Regions from separate parts of the Homo sapiens genome. Here region 2 is linked to region 1. Evidence: promoter capture Hi-C in 16 types of primary human blood cells and fetal thymus (Javierre and others, 2016). All regions are on one chromosome and are shown on one strand. The core of a region is centred on a gene start or on the middle of the fragment in contact, and the rest is flanking DNA. Distances in the headings are between cores, read along the strand shown. Region 1 holds the start of ARL11 (ARF like GTPase 11). Region 2 overlaps CDADC1 (cytidine and dCMP deaminase domain containing 1).

Region 1 (3,504 bases), core at 500-2,999:
CTCTACAAAAATTGAAATTAAAAATGGAGCACAAATCTGTGCAGGCAAACAACGGAAGAGTTTTTCCAAAACAGGAAAAGTCTTCACAGGGTCAGATTTTAAACAGATGCCTGGGCTTTGAAGGAAGTGAGGATGTGTGAGTCACCATCAGCTAACCTGTCTCTGGGTCAGATAAGAGTGGTCCCTGAGCAGAGAAGATCAGGGGCCTCCTGGAAGACATTCCTGAGGAGTTAAAGCAAAGAGGCAAAATGAAGTTCCAGTCAGACAGAGCTGGTTCAGTAGAAATTACAGAACGATGTCTTCAATTCTTGCTGGTCTGTGGCTTCTAACCTCTTCTCCTCCTATAAGCCTAAATGCTGAAATGGAAGCTAAGCTGGGTTCCATGCACAGAGTGAGAAGGATGGTTCAGCTCACGGTGACCTCTCTTTAGAGCTTCCCAAGGACCAGTACTATGTCTTGGAAACACAGTGAGGTGTCACTTAATGACGGGGACACATTCTGAGAAATGCTTCATTAGGCAATTTCATCATTTTACAAAATCATAGATTGTAATTACACAAACGTGGATGGTCTAGTCTACTCCACACCTAGGCTATATGGTATGGCCCATTGCTCCTGGGCTACACACCGGTACAGCATTCCTGTAATGGGTACTGTAGGCTATTGTAACACAGTGCTAAGTATTCGTGTATCTAAACATAGAAAAGGTAGTGGTTGCACCACAACACTAAGCTGAAAAATAGGAATTTTTCAGCTCTGTTATAATCTTATGGGACCACCGTTGTATATGTGGTCTGTCGTTGACTGAAATGTCTTCATGCAGTGCCTGACTGGGGCTATTTATAAATACTGTTTACTGGGGGCAAATTTATGAGTCAGAGCAAAGCAGTTTCCTCCACTGTCTTACCAAGGTCAATGACTTCTACAACACTCCACATGTGCTTTTTTGTTTGTTTTTGGGTTTTTTTGTTTTGTTTTGTTTTGTTTTGTTTTGAGACAGGGTCTCACTCTGTCGCCCAGGCTGGACTGCAGTGGCATGATCACAGCTCACTGCAGCCTCGACTTCCCAGGCTCAAGCCATCCTCCCACCTCAGCCTCCCCAGTAGCTGGGACTATGGGCATGTGCCATCACACATTTTTGTTGTTGTTTTGAGACAGGGTCTCACTGTGTCACCCAGACTGGAGTGCAGTGGTGCAATCTTGGCTCATCACAACCTCTGCCTCCCTGCAACCTCCGCCTCCTAGGTTCAAGGGATTCTCCTGCCTCAGCCTCCCGAGTACCTGGGATTACAGCTACTACTACCACCCAGCTACTTTTTGTATTTATATTAGAGACGAGGTTTCACCATGTTGGCCTGGCTGGTATTGAACTCCTGACCTCAAATTATCCACCTGCCCGGCCTCCCAAAGTGCTGGGATTACAGGCGTGAGCCACTGTGCCCAGCCACATATGTTTTTAAAGAATCCCAAATTTTAAGACATAAGACCTGTTCCCAACTTAGACGATGCCTGCGTGGAACAGAGAAGAGACATCTCAACTTCCGGGAATGGGGGTGGGGGGATATGAGCTGCCTCTGGAAGGAGGTAAGCCTCTACTCATCCCTACTCCCAAGGGTAGAAAAGTAAAAAGTTAAAATTACCTCTGTGTTACTATTAGACTGCAGCTGTGAGATCCTGCGTGGCTCTCCTCCCCTATGGAGCTGCTTTCTGCTGGCCAGGCATGACCCAAGAGCGAGATGGGAAGGAAGCAGAGCAGCCGTTGCTGCTTCTCCTTTTTGTGCTTCCTTTTCCCAGGTGGCTGGGGGGCGGGGCTGGTGTCACGGCCCCTCCCTCAGCCCTAGGGCGCCTCAGAGCAGTCATCTTGCTGGGCTTGCCACAGAGAGGTCCCCGGCTCTGCAGGTCCTGGCAGAGCAAGGCCCAGTGACAGCTCCATTTTTTAGCAACTCAGACTTGGGTGCCTGAAGGAGGGAGCACGAGCTCGGAGCTGTGTCCAAGCGCAGCCGCCTTCTCTCTTCCCTCAGGATCCTCTGAGCTCCTCGCAGAGAATTCTGACCTCTTCCTTTCAGTACATGCCTCAAGGTTTTTCTGGTGGCTAGAGATTCTCTGATTTGCTTGGAATCACACATGGTTTGTTGTTGTTGTTGTTGTTGTTTTGTTTTGTTTTCTATTTGAGACCGAGTCTTGCTCTGTCGCCCAGGCTGGACAGCAGCCTCCGCCTCCAGGGCTCAAGCGATCCTCCCTCCTCAACCTCCTAAGCAAGTGGGATTATAGGCAGGTGCCACCATGCCCAGCTGATTTTTGTATTTTTCATAAAGACAGGTTTCACCATGATGGCCAGGCTGCACATGTGTTCTTTTAAAAGCTGCCTATGGCCAGGCGTGGTGGCTCAGGCCTGTAATCCCAACATTTTGGGGGGCTGAGGTGGGTGGATCACGAGGTCAGGAGTTCGAGACCAGCCTGGCTAACATGGTGAAACCCCGTCTCTACTAAAAATACAAAAATTAGCTGGGCGTGGTGGCACCTACCTGTAGGCCCAGCTATTTGGGAGGCTGAGGCAGGAGAATGGCATGAACCCGGGAGGCGGAGGTTGCAGTGAGCCCAGATCACACCACTGCACTCCAGCCTTGGTGACAGAGCGAGACTCTGCCTCAAAACAAAAACAAAAACAAAAAACAAAAAAAGCTGTCTACATATGATGAAAACATTCTTTAAAAGGTATGTATGATGCAGATCAACCTTTAAAATTGTGTTAATGTAGTGATTAAAGTTACCGTTCAATTTTTTCTTGAATGGTGTCACTGTGTTTTTCCCAGTAAAAATGACACCTCTAGAAAATGTAATTTTTAAAAAATTGGCTAGTCGCCGGGCATGGGGGCTCATGCCTGTAATCCCAGCACTTTGGGAGGCCAAGGCAGGAGGATCGCTCAAGCTCAGGAGTTCAAGACCAGCCTGGCCAATATGGTGAAACCACGTCTCTACAAAAAATAATAAATTAACCAGGCATGGTGATGTGTGCCTGTAGTTCCAGGTACTTGGGAGATTGAGGCCCAAGAACTGCATGAGCCCAGGAGGTGGAGGCTGCAGTGAGCTGAGATCACAGCACTGCACTCCAGCCTAGAAGACAGAGTGAGACTCTGTCTCTCTCCTATTTTTTTTTTTTAATTGAGATGGAGTCTCGCTCTGGCGCCCAGGCTGGAGTGCAATGGCACAATCTCGGCTCACTGCAACCTCCGCCTCCTAGGTTCAAGCAATTCTCCCACCTCAGCCTCCCGAGTACCTGGGATTACAGGCACGTGCTACCATGCCTGGATAATTTTTTTATTTTCAGTAGAGACAGGGTTTTGCCATGTTGGCCAGGCTGGTCTCCAGCTTCTAATCTCGAGTGATCTGCCCGCCTCGGCCTCCCAAAGAGCTGGGATTACAGGTGTGAGCCACTGCACCCAGCCGAGACTCTGTCTCAAAAAAAAAAAGAAAAAAAGAAAAAAAATTGACTAGTCAGAAACC
Region 2 (3,504 bases), core at 691-3,190, 340 kb after region 1:
ATTATAGGCGTGAGTGACCACACCTGGCCTATAGTTACTATTTTAGAATAATATTATATAGCACTCATATCTAAAATTATGTGCCTAAAGAATTGTAAGACTTCTCAAAGATTATATTACATTCAAAATATCTGTAGTAGTATACGAATAATAAAGCTTTAAAGACTAGTAATTCATTATGGTAGCTGTGATGATTCTTAGTTAATCAGATTATTCAAGTTACCAGAACATTTCCAATCTGGGCAAATGTGGGTTTACTCTAGAAGAATGTATATATCCTCATCATTTGGTCCCAATCCATCTGTACTAATTATACATATTTTTCCTTTCTCACTCCCCAATAAGCTTTTGTTTTGTTATAGAAGAGCATTGCTGTTTACTGTTTCATATGCATTTAATTTATAAAGTCAATTTGTGCATAATTATTTGTATTAACCTGTAGATTCTATAGGAGTAATTATTAATCGGCACTTTCCATAGCACCTAGCATATGGTAGACCCACAAATATTTATGAACAAATTGAATGGCAAAAATCTAACCTTCAAAAATAATATGCTCCATCTATTAACACAATTTTCATCACCTGATCATTAAAATTCACTGTATATCCTTTCTCCTCAGCAACAAAGTTCACCTCAATACATAAATACTTACTTTCTCTCCTTTCAGGCTCATTTTGTTCAAGACCATAAGCTCCTGATGGATTCAGCTGCCACTGTAAGAGTGCACAAACATTTTACTTGTTTAAAGAGGATTTAATACATAGCATTCCAGCACATTGATTTTAAATATCAAAACAACTTCTTAAAAATGGAAGAAAAATGGCTGGGCATAGTGGGTCACACCTGTAATCCCAGCACTTTGGGAGGCCAAGGTAGGTGGATTACCTGAGTTAAGGAGTTTGAGACCAACCTGGCCAACATGGTGAAACTCCGTCTTTAATAAAAATACAAAAATTAGCTGGGCGTGGTGGCACGCGCCTGTAGTCCTAGCTACTTGGGAGGCTGAGGTAAGAGAATTGCTTGAACCTGGGAGGTGGAGGTTGCAGTGAGCTGAGATGGTGCCACTGCACTTCAGCCTGGGTGACAGAGCAAGCCTCCATCTTGAAAAAAAAAAAAAATTAAAAAAATAGAAGAAAAAGAAGTTAGCATGTTCAAATTAACAAAGCCCTAATAACGCCACACTGAGTGATCCTGAATGATATAACTTCTGGGATCCGAATCAATACTCTTAGAGAAGTTGAAGATTCTTTACATTCATTTTAATTGGAAGTAAGTGGAAGACCAGAGGATTGGAGTGACTTGTCTCAGGTTACACCCTAACTACAGGAGGCAATAGAATTAGAACCCATGCCCAGTACTATGGAATTAACATCGCATTGTATTCTATCTCCAGGTCCTAGAGAATCTTATAATAGCTAGAAAAGGCCTAGGTATTAAAGAATGAAAATATGACCAAGATAGGCCATGCACAGTGGCTCACGCCTGTAATCCCAGCACTTTGGGAGGCTGAGGTGGGTGGATCACGAGGTCAGATAGAGACCATCCTGGCTAACAAGGTGAAACCCCGTCTCTACTAAAAATACAAAAAATTAGCTGGGCGTGGTGGCCGGTGCCTGTAGTCCCAGCTACTCGAGAGGCTGAGGCAGGAGAATGGCGAGAACCCGGGAGGTGGAGCTTGCAGTGAGCCGAGATTGCACCACTGCACTCCAGCCTGGAAGACAGAGCAAGACTCTGTCTCACAAAAAAAAAAAAGAAAAAAGAAAAAAAAAAGAAAAGAAAAAGAAAATATGACCAAGATTACCTTGCCTTTTAATGTTGTTATATCATAAACTATTACCTGCATCATATCATTTTATATCATATCATATATCTCCTCTGATTACTGTATTTCATCTCAACCATTCAGGAATAAATAGGGAAGCCTGAAGATTCACAGATATTACATAGAATATTGGGGCAGGAGAAAATAAAAATGGAGAGTAATCGGTATCTTATAGCACAGCCCTTCTTTTCTCAGCTGGATAGAATCTCTATCAGAATCACTAATGACTTAACCAAAAGGCCCTGCTAGGGCACCATCTCAGGACACAAATATGGATTACCCGGGAGCCTCTTCCATAAGCATCAGTTCACTCATCAGATTAACTAGTTAACATCACGAGCCTTGAGGGGGGATGAGATACAGGACAAACATTTTACCATGTATTAAAAGTCCCTGGAAAGGGAGGACATCTAGAAATGGTTGGTTATTTAAACGAATGGGATGGTTTAGGCTAGCACCAAGAAAGAGAGAAGACTTAGAAAGGGTAGGAAGCTACATGAGAAATTACCAAAAAAATGTTTAAAATTAGGCATTTTTTGAAAGACGTCAAACCACTAAAACCTATTAATTTGGGCAGACAAAGTAAAAACAAGTAATCCTGAATTTATGTTTAAGGACATTCATAAAAAGGCTTCTTATAACTGTAAAAACTTAGAAACAATCCAGGTGTCCAACAACATGGGAATGGTTAAATAAGTTAGGCCTATGGGTTGGAATATTGTGTTAAATTATTTAAAATATTTTTTAAAGAACTTTTAGTGGCAGAAAATACAGCAACATGTTAATTGTGGTATCTATGAGTTGTGAGATAATACACGTTCTTTTTTATTTTCCTAGTCTTCTACAATGAGCATATACTACTTTCATAATAAAAATAAGTAATATAACCTAATAGAGAAAAATCCACACATATTAAAGAGAAAACAAAGAACTGAGTATGTGGACATGGATATAGATTGATAAAATCTATTCTTGGAAACAGTGTTGCCCAGTCCTAGCCTGGTTTGTGACAACACCACAGAATAGAACTACTTATCTCAAGGTCTATGGTAACTTATCAAAAAGGAAAGCAAAAAATCTTTCAAAGTAATTTCAATTTGCTTTAATCTTAAAAACAAATACCAAATTTATTGACACACACTATTTTTGATAATCTTGGTACTGAAATTCAGATTTAGAACAAATTCTAGTTCATGTTAATTACTTGCATTTACAAAACTAGGTATCTAGCTAACCATCTACATAATATTTGCAGCCAGGCCAGATGAGAAGGATGAGAAGATGGACAGCTCATCTTCACTGGAGGTAGAACAGAGAACAACCATGAACAACAGCCTTTGGAACATGTGCCTGAGTGAGGGTATTTCCGGGAGGGTCTGGCCCAACTGGGTGCTTCCTTTCCCATCTCTGCCCCTGAAGATCCCCTTAGTCTTCCTGCCTCCTTCTGCTTCTCTTGCCCTTTCTTAAGTTCTTCTGATCTCTTCATTCTCTTTACAATTGAAAAGCTATTAAAATCTACCAGTAAGCAAGATATTTCAGAATTCTCCATAACCCATCACTCATAGTCCTTAATCTTTATGATTAAGTCACTTAATCTTTATGAGGAGAACTTGAAAAACCTATTTATTCACACTCTTCAGGAGGAATGAAGAGACAGAAAACAAAAACACGGAAGTAGA

The links. The method cuts DNA at HindIII sites, captures the fragments that hold promoters and counts their contacts. A CHiCAGO score of 5 or more calls a contact.
Region 2: a contact is called between a fragment that was not itself captured here and the fragment with the promoter of ARL11 in region 1, in 2 of 17 cell types (non-activated CD4 T cells and naive CD8 T cells). The highest score is 6.0, in non-activated CD4 T cells.

The regions. Positions count from the first base shown.
Region 1 is chr13:49,626,752-49,630,255 of GRCh38, reverse strand. It overlaps ARL11 (ARF like GTPase 11), which reads right to left and starts at 1,749. Exons shown (of 2, transcript NM_138450.6): 1 at 1,641-1,749. RefSeq lists an enhancer at 1,448-1,497. The HindIII fragment of the contact is 16,861 bases long and covers 1-3,504 here.
Region 2 is chr13:49,283,434-49,286,937 of GRCh38, reverse strand. CDADC1 (cytidine and dCMP deaminase domain containing 1) reads right to left here. Exons shown (of 10, transcript NM_030911.4): 9 at 656-716. Among named protein-coding and RNA genes, the nearest start is that of CDADC1, 37 kb to the right of the region's middle. The HindIII fragment of the contact is 3,185 bases long and covers 348-3,504 here.